Regions from separate parts of the Homo sapiens genome. Here regions 1, 2 and 3 are each linked to region 4. Evidence: promoter capture Hi-C in 16 types of primary human blood cells and fetal thymus (Javierre and others, 2016). All regions are on one chromosome and are shown on one strand. Each heading gives the region's core, a stretch centred on a gene start or on the middle of the fragment in contact. The rest is flanking DNA. Distances are from core to core; before and after follow the strand shown.

Region 1 (3,431 bases), core at 774-3,273, 210 kb before region 4:
AATAAGTCATTTATTACACTCTCCTACTGAGATACCCCATGGTTATGAAACTAGCCCCATCATCCCATAGAACTTATATTAATAGTTTCTTTCAATAAACATAGAATTGACTTGAGAAAGTTACATTTGTCTTATCTGAGTTCCTTTCCCAGGAAACGAACCATCAGGACTCCCAGATAGTATCAAGGAGCTGAAACTTAGCAGATCACACCTGGACAATGAGATGTCAGACCCCTCACCCATCATGATTGCCCAATTGACGATCTGCTTCCTGTTGACCAACTTCTCTTCCTTACCCCTACCTAACTGTTGTTTTCTCACATATTGTCACATTTCTTCCCTGCTATATAAACCCCTAATTTTTAATTAACTAATTTATTTTTGAGATGGAGTTTCGCTCTTGTTGCCCAGGCTGGAGTGTAATGGCACGACATCAGCTCATCGCAACCTCTGCCTCCCAGGTTCAAGCAATTCTCCTGCCTCAGCCTCCTGAGTAGTTGGGATTACAGGCATGTGCCACCACCCCTAGGCTAATTTTGTATTCTTAGTAGAGATGGGGTTTCTCCATGTTGGTCAGGCTGGTCTCGAACTCCCGACCTCAGGTGATCCGCCTGCCTCGGCCTCTCAAAGTGCTGGGATTACAGGCGTAAGTCACCACGTCCAGCCTAAACTCCTAATTTCAATCAGTCAGGGAGATAGATCTGAGACTGATCTCCCATCTCCTTGGTTGGCACCTAATTAAAGCCTTCTTCATGGGCAATACTAGTGTCTCAGTGATTGGCTTTCTGTGTGGCAAGCAGCCGACTGAACTGGTGTTTCAGTAACAGCTACCCGTGGTGTGTATTCTCCTTCGCTGTGACAAGTAATACATTGAAATTTTTTCAACTGGCTGGGCATGGTGGCTCATGCCTGTAATTCCAGCACTTTGGGAGGCCGAGGCAGGCATATCACTTGAGGTCAGGAGTTCAAGACCAGCCTGGCCAACATGGTGAAACGCTGTTTTTACTAAAAATACAAAAACTAGCCGGGCATGGTGGCACGCATCTGTAGTCCCAGCTACTCAGGAGGCTGAGGCAGGAGAATTGCTTGAACCTGGCAGGTGGAGGTTGCAGTGAGCCGGATTGCACCACTGCACTCCAGCCTGGGCAACAGAGCGAGACTCCGTCTCAAAGAAAAAGGAAAAGAGAGGGGAGGGGAGAGGATGGGAGGGGAGGGGAGGGGAGGCAAAGACATTTGTTCAACCACATGTGTGATTCTGGTGTTTTTTGACTGGGTGGGTGAGGGAGACACTAACAGTCTTCACAATAACACTACAAGAAAAGCACAGTTATTATCCTGCTTTACAGAGGAGAAAATTGAGACACAGAGAGGTTAACAATTGACCATGGTCATACAGCTTGTAAGTGGTAGGGCTGGGATTCGAACCTAGGCAAGTTGACACAAGTCCATGCTTAATCAGTACACTAAGCAGACCCAAATTTGAGGACAAGAGGAATTTATATGGGAGGCAGTTGCGGAAAATGCCAGTGGTGGGAAGGGGTTCTTTATTTCTTCATGTGGACTTTTTTTTTTTTTGAGACAGGGTCTCACTTTGTCGCCCAGACTGGAGGGCAGTGGTGTGATCTCAGCTCACGTCAACGGGGTTCAAGTGATTCTCCTACCTCAGCCTCCCAAGTAGCTGGGACTACAGGCACACGACACCACACCCAGCTAATTTTGTATTTTTTGGTAGAGACGGGGTTTCATCATGTTTAGCCAGGCTGGTCTCAAGCTCCTGACCTCAGGTGGGCCTTGGCCTCTCAAAGTGCTGGGATTACAGGCAAGAGTCATCACGCCTGGCCTTTCATATGGATTTGAGTTACTGTCTAGTGTTCTTTCATTTCATCCTGAAGGATTCCCTTCATTTCCTCTATTGTAGTAAAATACACATAACATAAACTTTACCATTTAAAGCATACCATTTAAAGTATACAATTCAGTGACATTTAGTACATTTACAATGTTGTGCAACCATCCCTACTACCTAGTTCCAGAACATTCTCATCTCCCCAAAAGGACACCCCATAGTTATTTATTTATTTATTTATTTATTTATTTATTTATTTATTTATTTTGAGACGGAGTCTCACTCTGTCGCCCAGGCTGGAGGGCAGTGGTGCAATCTCGGCTCACTGCAAGCTCCGCCTCCCGGGTTCATGCCATTCTCCTGCCTCAGCCTCCTGAGTAGCTGGGACTACAGGTGCCTGCCACCATGCCTGGCTAATTTTTTGTATTTTTGGTAGAGACGGGGTTTCACCGTGTTAGCCAGGAAGGTCTTGATCTCCTGACCTCATGATCCACCCGCCTCGGCCTCCCAAAGTGCTGGGATTACAGGCATGAGCCACTGCGCCCGGCCTATTTATTTATTTTTGTTTTTGTTGAGAGAGGGTCTTCTTCTGTCACCCAGGGTGACTGCAGTGGCACAATCATGGTTGAGTGCAGCCTCAGCCTCCTGGGCTCAAGCAATCTTCCCACCTCTGCCTCCTGAGTAGCTGGGGACGTGGGCATGTGCCACCGTGGTCAGCTAATTTTCAAATGTTTTGTAGAGATGGGGCCTTGCTATGTTGCCTAGGCTGGTCTCAGACTCCTGGCCTCAAGTAATCTTCCTCCCCTGGCCTCCCAAGGTACTGGGATTACAGACGTGAGCCACCATGCCCAGCCCCCCATACTTACTAAGCAGTCACTCCACATTCCTGCCTTCCTGCAGCCTTGGAAAACCCTAATCTGTTTTGGCCTCCCAAAGTGCTGGGATTACAGACGTGAGCCACTGTGCCCGGCTAACAAATTGTTTTCTGCCCATGCATTTATGTATTGTATGTGACGCATTTGTGCTAGAATAGCAGAGTTGCAGCAGAGAGCCCTCGAGGCCCAAAAATATTTACTATTTGGCCCTTTTCAAATGTTTGCCAACCTTTGGTCTAGAAGGTTACATTCTGGAGCAAACAGATCATAGACAGATAAAGAAAGGCAGATGCTAAAATCAGCCGGGCGTGGTGGCAGGCACCTGTAGCCCCAGCTACTCGGGAGGCTGAGGCAGGAGAATGGTGTGAACCCGGGAGGTGGAGGTTGCAGTGAGCCGAGATCGCGCTACTGCACTCCACTGGGCGATAGAGCAAGACTCCGTCTCAAAAAAAAAAAAAAAAAAAAAGAAAGAAAGAAAAGCAGATCCTGAATCTGGTCCCCTCCACTCACCCGCGCTTCCCAGTTATGAAAGGCAACACAATCTCCACATCTTCTTTCTTGGGTTTTGGGTTGGTTTGAGTTGGGGCCACGAAGGGAAGTGAAAATGATGTGGTCCTCATTGCTTTCACAGTTTCAAACCCAACTCCAGTGTTTATCAGCTGATGGGCTGTGGGCAGGTGACTCATCTCTGAGCCACTATGCTCATAGGT
Region 2 (3,193 bases), core at 60-2,559, 230 kb after region 4:
CCTCTTCTTGTCTTCTTCTTCCTCTTCTTCCTCTTCTTTTCTCCTTCTTCTTCTCCTTCTTCTCCTTCTTCTCCTTCTTCTCCTTCTTCTCCTCCTTCTCCTTCTCCTTCTCCTTCTCCTTCTCCTTCTCCTTCTCCTTCTCCTTCTCCTTCTCCTTCTCCTTCTCCTTCTCCTTCTCCTTCTCCTTCTCCTTCTCCTTCTCCTTCTCCTTCTCCTTCTCCTTCTCCTTCTCCTTCTTCTTCTTCTTCTTCTTCTTCCACAGAGTCTTGCTCTGTTGCCCCCAAGCTGGAGTGCAGTGGCGTGATCTCAGCTCACCACAACCTCCGCCTCCCGAGTTCAAGCCATTCTCCTGCCTCAGCCTCCTGAGTAGCTGGGATTACAGGTGCACACCACTGCACCTGGCTAATTTTGTGTGATTAATAGAGTTGGGGTTTCACCATGTTGGCCAGGCTAGTCTAGAACTCCTGACCTCAGGTGATCTGCATGCCTCAGCCTCCCAAAGTGTAGGGATTACAGGTGTGAGCCACGGTGCCCGGCCAGTGCTTTATTTGTTTTAGGGCTGAATAATATTCAATTGCATGGAGATACCACATTTCGTGTATCCATTGATCTGTTGATGGACATTTGGGTCGTTTTCACCATTTGGTTATTTCAAATCACGCTGCCATGAACAATTGCATACAGATGTACGCAATTGCACGGATGTGTGTTTTCCATTGTCTTGGGTCGTTACCTAGGAAGGGAATTGCTGGAGTACATGCTAATCTATGCTTAGCTTTTTGAGGAACCGCTGTTATGCAGTCTCTTTTTTGAGATAGAGCCTCACTCTGTTGCCCAGGCTGGAGTGCAGTGGCGCCATCTTGGCTCACTGCAACCTCCACCTCCGGGATTTGAGTGATTCTCCTGCCTCAGCCTGTTGAGTAGCTGGGATTACACGTATGCACCACCACACCTGGCTAATTTTTTTTATTTTTAGTAGAGACGGGGGTCTTGCTACGTTGGCCAGGCTGGTCCGGAACTCCTGAGCTCAGGCAATCCCCCCGCCTTGGCCTCCCAAAGTGCTGGGATTACAGGCATGAGCCATTGCACCTGGCCTAAAACCACTGAATTGTATGCTTTAAATGGGTGAAGTATATGGTAGCTCAATAAAGCTGTTCCTAAAAAGTTTTTTGTTGGAGCCTCTTGCAGAGCTTTGGATGGGGCAGGTACACATGGGGCCTGAAGCTTCAGTTTCCATTGCTTCAAGGTAAATTTGCCCCCTGATGCCACCTGTATTCACAGATGAGTGGCTGGACAGTAACGAGCAATGCCAGGGTTTCCACCATCACTGCTTTCCAGGTTGCCCTCCCGGGCTGGTTGGAGGGACTCTGTTCAGCTGCTGTTGTTAAGCTTTGCATCTGTTCTCTTCCCCACCCAGAAGCCGAAGCAGCATCTATGACTCACAGAAACGAAACAAGCAGGCTGTGAAGGAGGAGGAAAGCCAGATGTGGGGGAGGGTCCTGGAGGTTGGTGGGAGCTTGGGAGGGGAAAGGCAGTCCCATTCCTCAGCCAAGTCCCCTTAGGGCTGGAGGAGAGCCTGCAGGGTTGGCTTGCTTCACTGGACAGGGTCCTTGTGGAGGCCTGAGGCCTCCTGTAGCCTGCAGGACCTCATGCCCTGTATCTGTGAACCCTGAAGGTCTGGGATCCAAAGATCAAAGGTGAAAGGCCAGGGTTGGCCGGGCCCAGTGGCTCACACATGTAATCCCAGCACTTTGGGAGGCCGAGGAAGGCGGATCACTTGAGGTGAGGAGTTTGAGACCAGCCTGACCAACATGGCGAAACCTAGTCTCTACTGAAAATACAAACATTAGCTGGGCATGGTGGCATGTGCTTATAATTCCAGCTACTAGGGAGGCTGACACATGGGAATCTCTTCAGCCAGGGAAGGGCAGGATGCAGTGAACTGAGATTGTGCCATTGCACTCCAGCCTGGGTGACAGAGTGAGACTCTGTCTCAAAGAAAAAAAAAAAGGAAAAGAATGAAAAAAGAAAAGAAAAGAAATGCCAGGGTTGTGTGATTGTGCATGTTTTGTTGTTGTTGTTGTTGTTGTTGTTTTGTTTCAAGAGAGTCTTGCTCTGTCACCCAGGCTGGAGTGGTTCCATCTTGGCTCACTGCAGTCTCCACCTCCTGGGTACAAGCGATTCTCCTGTCTCAGACTTCTGAGTAGCTGGGACCACCGATGTGTACCACCATGTCCAGCTAATTTTTGCATTTTTAGTTGAAATGGGGTTTCACCATGTTGGCTAGGCTAGTCTCGAACTCCTGGTCTCATATGATCCTCCCACCTCGGCCTCCCAAAGTGCTGGGATTACAGGCATGAGCCACTGTGCCTGGCTGAGTTTTGTTTTTATAGGGAAGCTTCTGACCGAGGAACAGGTTGAGCTTGACCTGATGATGAACTCAACTGTGATCCTAGTTCCCAATGACTGACTCAACTCTGATCCTAGTTTTACAGATTGAACTCCAATCTTTGTGTCACAGACTGAGCCATGATCCTGGTGTCATATACTGAGCCTTGATCCTGATATCACAGACTGAACTTCATCTGGCTGTCATTGGTTGAGCATTCATTCTTGTATCATAGAATGAACCCCCCTCCTAGTGTCATAGACTAAGCCTTTATCCTGGTGTCATATATTGATCCCTGATCCTAGTGTCATAGGCTAAGCCCTAATCCTGGTGTCATAGTCTTAGCTCTTATCCTGGTATCATAGACTGAGCCCCAATCCTGGTGTCATAGACTGAATCTTGATCTGGCATCATAGACTGAGCTCCAATCCTGATGTCATAGGCTGTGTCCTGATTCCAATATTATGAGCTAAGCCCTAATCCCAGTGTCATAGACTGAGCTCTGTCAATTACCAACCACAATTGCCCCAAACGATTGCCAATCACATTTGTCACTGATCCTCAGCTACCAGTCTCTCCCCTGTAGTCCATCTTCTGTCCTGGAGTTGGTGTGTCCTTTTGATATAACCCTCTGATGGTCACTCCCCTTCTACTGATCCCCACCCCTATAGACTCCAGTCCCCTTAGAATGACATTCAGAGCCCTCCTCAGCCTGTCCTCTTACCTCCCTGTCACACACATGCACACCCAACTCACCATTCTCCTGGTATCTCTGTGCTGTTCCTACCACTCTTCCTGCCTGGC
Region 3 (3,569 bases), core at 720-3,219, 230 kb before region 4:
TGACCACAGAAGCCCAGAGGAACCTACAGGTTGGACCCTGAGGCCAGAGCTGGGAGTGGGGAGGGCGGCGGGATGGATGGGAAGAGCCACAAAAGACGGAAAGACACAGGGACACGGGTCCTCTAGCTCAATCACATCCCGGCCGAGGGGGAATAAAACGAAGCAGACAACTCATTCATGTTCCACTCGAGCCTCTTCAGCACATTTTTCCCTTCTGAAAATATTCCTTAACAAAGAGCTGCCTGCTTCTGGCAGGCCCCGACCCAGGTCTCAAATGCCAAGATAGAAGGAAGCTGTTTTGTTTTGGCCAAACACACTAGTTGTGGGTGAAAGAACTCTCGGGCTGTCAGGGGCCAGCTCTGAGGAGCAACCTGGACCGCCCTGCTGGCTCTGGCATTTGAGGCCAGTAGGCGTGATGGGGTCAGGAGGCTGGGGGCAGACTTCAGGACGGAAGCCAGGAGCTGTGAATCCTCTCCCTTCCCGCCAGGGGGTGGCATAAATCAGGGGGCGGGCAGTGGTTCCTTCGGGACACTAGTGTAGGAGAGAAAGTGAGCGTCCTTCCCTTTGAAAGGGCACAGCAGGGAAGGATGGATAACTTGGCAGAGGCCTGGGGCAGGTTCCCACAGGGGTAGGTGCTGGGGGATTCTGGGGCCCTGTCACCCTCCAAGGCTCCAGTGTGGGCGCTGGTTTGGTGGAGGGGCAAGTTGGCTTCCTGGGGTGCGGCAGGCACCTCATGGTCTCTGGAATCTCTGCTTGAGCTGGGGGAGCTGTCGGGGACTCTGGGAGGGCCTGGACAGGTGGGATCTGAGGAGGGGTGCAGAAGTGTTGAGTGGGTGGGGGCAGGGGCAGATATGCCTGGGGTCTATGTTGGAGCTCTTAAGTTTTTCTGTGTGTGCTGGGGGATCTAAGTGACTGTGTGTGTGTGTGTGTGTGTGTGTGTGTGTGTGTGTGTGTGTGTGTTTGGGGTTTTCAGAAAGATGGGTGGCTCTGGATGGGGAGTGGGGTGGTTCAGAATATCCAACGGGAGGTCTTGAGCATGGGTGGATTTTTCAGGATCCAGGAGCCAGGATCCAGATGGGGCAGGATCAGTGGAGCTACCACAGTGTGCTGGGTGGACGCCGGGGAGTGGTGTTTAGGGGTGCCCTTGGGCATGTGGCAGCTGGGGTGGGAGATGGGCTAGCAGGCTGAGCTGAGGGCTGTGGGCAGGGGTAGGAAATCCGACTTACAGAGGCCAGAGAGGGGTCCTGTGGGGTCAGCATGGGGGGCGGGTAGGCCCTGAGGCTGGTCTCCTTGGGGAGAGGTGGGGGCAGTTCTGGGCCCAAGATAGGAGGACGTGAAGTGAGGGGGTGCGGGGAGGGGGTGGCAAGTGTTGTCCAGAAGGGAGGGGTCCTGAGAGATCAGGGCAGAAGGTGGACGGGGGTTCTTGGGCTTGGGGGGCGCTTCTGAGGGGCTGATCGGCGGAGTGGGGGGATGGGGAGCCCTGAGGGGGTTCCCGGAGAGGAGTCCTGAGGGTCACTGCAAAGGGTGGACGGGGGTCCTGGGCCTGCGGGGTCCTCATGGGGAGGGGACGGAGTGGGGGAGGGGGATCCTGCAGGAGCTCCTGGGGAGGGGTCCGGAGGGATCGGCAACGAGGGTGGGCAGGGGCCAGGGTCCTCCGAAGGTCCCGGGCTGGGGATGCCGAGGCTCCCAGCGCGGGTTCCGGGGCACGACGGCCCGAGTTGCGGTCCTGCCGGTTCCCCGCGGGCCGCATCACGGAGCCGCCGGCCTGAGCAGGCGCCCGGGAGGCCCGGCCCGCGCCGCCCTACCTGCGCCGAGCGCGCCGCCATCTCCGTGCCGAGCCTCGCCGCCCCGGGCTGAGCCGCCGGATCCTAGCCGCGCCGTTCGCCCCGCAGCCCCGGCCCGGCCCCCTCAGCCGCCCCCCGGGACCGCGGCCGCCGCCGGCTCCGCCGCTGCCATTTCACCCGCTGACAGGAGCCGCTGCCCCGCCCCCGAGGCCCCATCCGCCAATTCGCCGCCCCCAGGCGCCCTGGCCCCGCCCACCAGCCAGGAGTGACGGGGTGTCTGACCATTCCGTGGCCATTCCGTGAGGCGGGCCCTGGCTACGTTCAGAAGGTTGCCGCCTCTGAGGAGAGAGCGAATTGAAATGAGGGAAGCGGTGAAGGACAGGTAGTTTTGCGTATCGGAATGAGGAATCCTATTGATCAACACCTGATAAGACCAATAGCAAGGAAAGTGGGGGTGTGTCCGTGAGGAAAGGCTGCGGCCCTGAGGAACACCAGGCAGACGCGGCCAAGCGTTTGGCACTAAGCCCCGCCCAGAGCCGGGCTTTCTGCCCAATAACGAGACGCCCCGAGACGTCCATTATTATCTGCCCCTCAAACCTGGGCCCTGGCAACTGCTGGGGGCGCCATAAAGAAGATTGACACCTAGGGAACCAATGCTACTGAAGGAGGGCGGGAAAGTGACACTCTCTGACCAATGGGTATGTGAGATTGGTGGGAGCATTGGCGTCCTGGGCGGTGGGGCTTGAGGCCTGGGTTGAATGAAATGGGGGTGGGGCTAAGAGGAGGGCGTGGCCTAGGCCAGAGATGGGGCGGGGTCAAGCAAGGGAGGGGCTCGGGGGTTGGGTCTGAGAAGGGGCGTGGCCAGAAATCCTGAAGACTCACTGGGGACGTGATGGCACCGTGTCGTCTAGGAGCCCAGTTCTGTGCTGGGGACGGGGCGGTTGATATTGGGGGCGGGTCCCATAAAAGATTCAGGCCCGTCCCCTGTCTTACTCCAGGCCAGGTTAAATGTGTTCTCTAAAGCTCACAGAGCCGCGTGTTTCTCCATCAAAGCTCGGTTCGCGCCGTGATCGTGGGGAGGGATAGGCCCTCCCATTCCCCATCCTCCCAGGCTGATAGATCCTCGGGGAGTCGGGATGCAGGGCCTAGGTCGGGTCTCTTCCAGGTCCCCAGCATGGAAACTGCTTATAAACATTTGATGAATGAATGAATGAAAATGGGCCCGTGACTCTTTTAACAGAGAAGGGAGAGGTGGAGAATCCTTCAAGCTAGAGAGGAATTCGTAGGGACAGTTACTGACAGCGGGCAAGACTGACCAAAATGGACTTATTTCCTCCCCAAGATGTAGGGATGGGCCCTGGAGGGGGTGGGGCAGGGAAGGACCTTGTCATAGCAGAGAGGGTGACGTCATAAGTGTGTTTTTATTTATTTATTTTTCAGAGACAGGGTCTCGCTCTGTGTCCCAGTTTGCAGTGCAGTGATGCGAACATAGCTCAATGCAGCCTCGAACTCTTGGACTCCAATGATCCTCCCGCCTCAACCTCCCCAGTAGCTGGGACTACAGGTGCGTGCACACCATGCCCGGCTAATTTTTTTGGTAGAGGCTGGGGTCTTGGTATGTTGCTCAGGCTAGTCGGAAACTCCTGGTGCCAGGTTCTCCCACTTCAGCCTCCCAAAGTGCTGGGATTACAGGCATGAGCCACCTCGCCCAGCTAGATGTCCTAAGTTCAGAATGGGGAAGGGAAGGCTGGACCCAGGGAGGGGCACGTCAGGACTTCCTAAGGT
Region 4 (3,649 bases), core at 785-3,284:
GCAGAGGGAGCTGGGTCAACAAGAACAGAACTGGGTGAGTCAGGGCACTGGGAGCTCACCAACACCCCTCATCAGAAGTTTGCTTTGCTGTCTTCAAAATGGGATAATTTCTACTCTGATTCCTGGCCAGGGGATAATGGATAACGTTAATATTATTCATCAAAATATACCACCGCCAATCACACCAGCAGCGAGCAACCGTTTCGCATGTATCACGCGCCCCGTGCCACGCGAAGAATTCTGTGGTCACTACAGCTTTTACGCCTCCCAGCAACCTTGCAAAGAGGTAACGGGGGGTCTCCATCACTGGAGCAGTGCCCTACACATAGCAAGTGCCCCTGCCCCACAAACATTCGCAAAACAGATAAGTCTGTGAATGAACGCCTTCTTTTATAGAAGGGGAAACAGAAGCTCAGATAATTGGGATAATTCGCATTCTGGTGCAGCTGGACTTCACATTCAATTCTGACACTCCACGTTGAGTTCTCTACAGCCTGGTAACCTTGGAAGTGAGGAGCTGGGGCTGTCCTGGCTGTCCAATGCCCAATCTCTTTCTTCCTCAAGCAAATATCTGCAGGGAGGTAGACCCCAGAGTGGGAAATGCATGCATGGAACGACGCAGACAGAGACTGTCTGGGAGAAAGAGGGACAGGCTGGGGCGGAACCAGGAGACGGACAGCTGTCACTGAGACCCACACCCAGAACAGGTTGATCTGGGAAGGCCAGGGAGAGGGGGGATGGGCTGTGCCAACACCAGTGGGCAGAACCAGTGGGAGAAAAGGATGTACCCCCACAGCTCCCCGCTGGAAAGCCCAGACCTTAATTAACCCCTGTCTTCTCTGGCCAGGCCCTGACTCCTAGCTCTGGCCTGGGGTTGTGAAGCTGCCCAAAGCCGAGACTGAGTGTTTCCAGGGCCTCTAATCCCGGGGACCCGGGATTACGGCATCCTCCCCATTAGGGTGGCTCGGGCTCTCAGGCAAGCGGGCCTGGGGGAGGGAGTGAAGGATCTGCTCTAATGGGAGAAGGCCCCGCAGCCGGGAGGAGCGGGGGGCCCACCCCAGGCGATCTTGTACTACCCATTTCCCTTCAGCTGGGCTCGCCAACCTCCCCAGTAAAATGGGGCCATAAGTCGCAGCTGCCAGGCGCTGGAGGGGGCTATGGAGGCGAAAGGGGGTTCCCAGAGCTCCCCGGTCGCCGCCCGCAGCGCGGCCAGGGCCGACGCGGGGTGTGTGTTGGGGCCTGGGGGTCGTGCGGTGGTGGAGACCGGAGCGCTCGAGACCCCCCAGCGAGGTCGGGGTCTGGGTCTCCAGGGTGTGTGGCGGGGGAAGAGACCGAGAGGAGATCCTCGCAGGGGCGTGATGTGTGTAAAAGAGAAGAAGGCGTGCAAGGGAAGGCCTTGGGGGTGCGGGAGGCGGGAACGAGAGGTCCGCACGGGGAGACCCCACCCGGCCCGCAGACCCCGCCCGGCTCACCTGGAGGCTTGGACGCCGGGGACCCCCGCGCGGAGCTGGGCCGCGGGCCCCACCCCCACCGCGCTCCCGCAGCCGGCGGGGCAAAGTCCACCGCCCGGGCCGAGCAGGAAGCTCGGAGGCCCCGGCGCGGCAGGGGCCCGAGCCCGGGGACCCCCGGCGGCCGGCGCTATTGTTCCCACGGCCCCCTGCCTTCCCGGCCCGGCGCCCCGCCCCCCCCCAGCACCTGCCGCGCCCGGCCCGCCGCCCCCGACCCCGGTCCCCCGAGCCCCGGTACCTGCGCCCCCGAACGCGGCCCGCAGCACCCACGCCAGGCTGGCCGCCGCCTTGGCCCGCGAGAAATCGTACTGGTCCAGCGACTTGATCTCGGGCACTAGAAAGGTCCTCCGCAGCGGCCCGGGCCCGGGGGGCGCCGCCTCCACCATGGCGGCGCCGGGGCTGCGGGCGCCGGGTCCGCGCTCGGACTGGGCTGGGCTGGGCTGCGCCGCGCTCGCGCCCCAGCCGGGCCCGCTGCTGCTACCGCCGCTGCCGCCGCCGCCGCCGCCGCCGCTGCTGAGCCAGGTGCGGCCGCTTGCGCTGGCGACGCTGCGTCGGGCCCGCCCCGGGGAGGAGCCCAGGTGCGCCCCGCCCCCGAACCCGGACCCGGACCCTGGCGCGCCCCTGCGCCCCGCCCGGGCCCCTCACTGCAGTGTGCACGGAGCAGCAGGGGCGGGGCGGAGGGGGGCGGCCTGGACTGCGGCGATGGTGGAGGGAGCTTGCGGAGGACTGAGTGTGTATGTGTGCGCGCGCGCGTGTGTGAGTGTGTGCGCGCGCGCCTAGCTTACTGGAAAGGATTAGGGACCCTCTGTGTGTGCCAGCCCCAGTGTCTACCCTTAGGCGTAGGAGCTCCTGCAAGTGCTTGCAATAAACGCCGGCCCTCAGGCAGAGAGTGGTTGGGTGCACCTGTTTCTGATTATGTTAGTGAAGGCACAAGAATATGAGTGTCTTCGTATCTGTGTATCTCTGAATACATTTGGGTGGTGACCAAGTGTATTGGGGGGTGTCTAGGGGTGTGTGTGTGTGGGGTATGTATCTGGGCACGTGTAAGTGTGTGTTTAATTTGTTGTGTGTACAAGGATATGTATTATATAGATGTCTGTATCCTGAGGATGGATGGAAGTGATGAGTGTGTGTCTGTTTTTTGTTTTTGTTTTTGTTTTTGTTTTTGAGACAGGGTCTCACTCACTCTGTCTCCCAGGCTGGAGTGCAGTGGCGCGATCTCGACTCACTGCAACCTCCGCCTCCCAGGCTCAAGCGATTCTCCTGCCTCAGCCTCCCGAGTAGCTGGGATTACGGGGTTGCGCCACCACTCCCGGCTAATTTTTGTATTTTTAGTAGAGTTGGGGTTTCACCATGTTAGCCAGGCTAGTCTCAAACTCCTGACCTCAGGTGATCACCCGCCTCAGCCTCCCAAAGTGCTGGGATTACAGGCGGCAGCCACCGTGCCCGGCTGTGTGTGTGTTTTTGGAGTGCTGTGAGTATGTCTATCTCTGTGCATCTGAACGTACTGGTGTGTTGTATGAGGCTGTTATTGATGCCTCTGTCAATGCAGGAGTATGGAGAGACATTGAGAGTGTGTGTATTTCAGGCCGAGAGCGGTGGCCACGAGTGTAATCCCAGCACTTTGGGAGGCCAAGGCGGGCAGATCACTTGAGGCCAGGAGTTCAAGAGTAGCCTGGCCAACATAGCAAAACCCCGTCTCTACTAAAAATAAAATTTTTAAAAATTAGCCGGGCATAATGGTGCATGCCTGTAATCCCAAGTACTCGGGAGGCTGAGGCGGGAGAATCGCTTGAACCAGGGAGGCAGAAGCTGAGATAGTGCCACTGCACTCCAGCTTGGCCAACAGAGTGAGACCCTGTCTCAAAAAAAAAAAAAAAGTGTGTATATTTCTGCAAGAGTGTGACTATTTGTGTCTATGAGTGTCCTTGCGTAGCTGTACTGGGTGTATTTGCAAGTGTCTTTGTGTATTATTCTGGTATCTGCAGTGTGTGCTGGGAGAAGGCTCTGTGTGGAGGTGAGGCTGTGTGTCTAAGTGGGTTTGTATTTGAGTATGTGAATCTGGCTATATGCACATGGATGTGTGATTGATTGATTGATTGATTTTTTGAGACGGAGTCTCGCTCTATCGCTCAGGCTGG

What was found. The method cuts DNA at HindIII sites, captures the fragments that hold promoters and counts their contacts. A CHiCAGO score of 5 or more calls a contact.
Region 1: a fragment that was not itself captured here is called in contact with the fragment with the promoter of CAMSAP3 in region 4 in 3 of 17 cell types (neutrophils, M1 macrophages and monocytes); the score reaches 5.9 in neutrophils.
Region 2: a fragment that was not itself captured here is called in contact with the fragment with the promoter of CAMSAP3 in region 4 in 2 of 17 cell types (M1 macrophages and M2 macrophages); the score reaches 6.0 in M1 macrophages.
Region 3: a contact is called between the fragment with the promoter of EVI5L here and the fragment with the promoter of CAMSAP3 in region 4, in 1 of 17 cell types (monocytes). The highest score is 7.1, in monocytes.

The regions. Positions count from the first base shown.
Region 1 is chr19:7,807,686-7,811,116 of GRCh38, reverse strand. All of the region lies in intron 1 of LOC124904628 (a long non-coding RNA gene), which reads right to left. Among named protein-coding and RNA genes, the nearest start is that of EVI5L, 21 kb to the left of the region's middle. The HindIII fragment of the contact is 5,208 bases long and covers 1-3,431 here.
Region 2 is chr19:7,359,056-7,362,248 of GRCh38, reverse strand. The region is part of intron 1 of ARHGEF18 (Rho/Rac guanine nucleotide exchange factor 18); the gene reads right to left. Among named protein-coding and RNA genes, the nearest start is that of ARHGEF18, 12 kb to the right of the region's middle. The HindIII fragment of the contact is 165 bases long and covers 1,227-1,391 here.
Region 3 is chr19:7,828,618-7,832,186 of GRCh38, reverse strand. It overlaps EVI5L (ecotropic viral integration site 5 like), which reads right to left and starts at 1,969. Exons shown (of 20, transcript NM_001159944.3): 1 at 1,806-1,969. RefSeq lists a silencer at 1,873-2,112. The HindIII fragment of the contact is 20,032 bases long and covers 1-3,569 here.
Region 4 is chr19:7,594,248-7,597,896 of GRCh38, reverse strand. CAMSAP3 (calmodulin regulated spectrin associated protein family member 3) reads right to left here and starts at 2,034. Exons shown (of 17, transcript NM_020902.2): 1 at 1,747-2,034. The coding sequence starts at 1,894. RefSeq lists an enhancer at 450-1,055 and a silencer at 1,895-2,334. The HindIII fragment of the contact is 11,146 bases long and covers 1-3,649 here.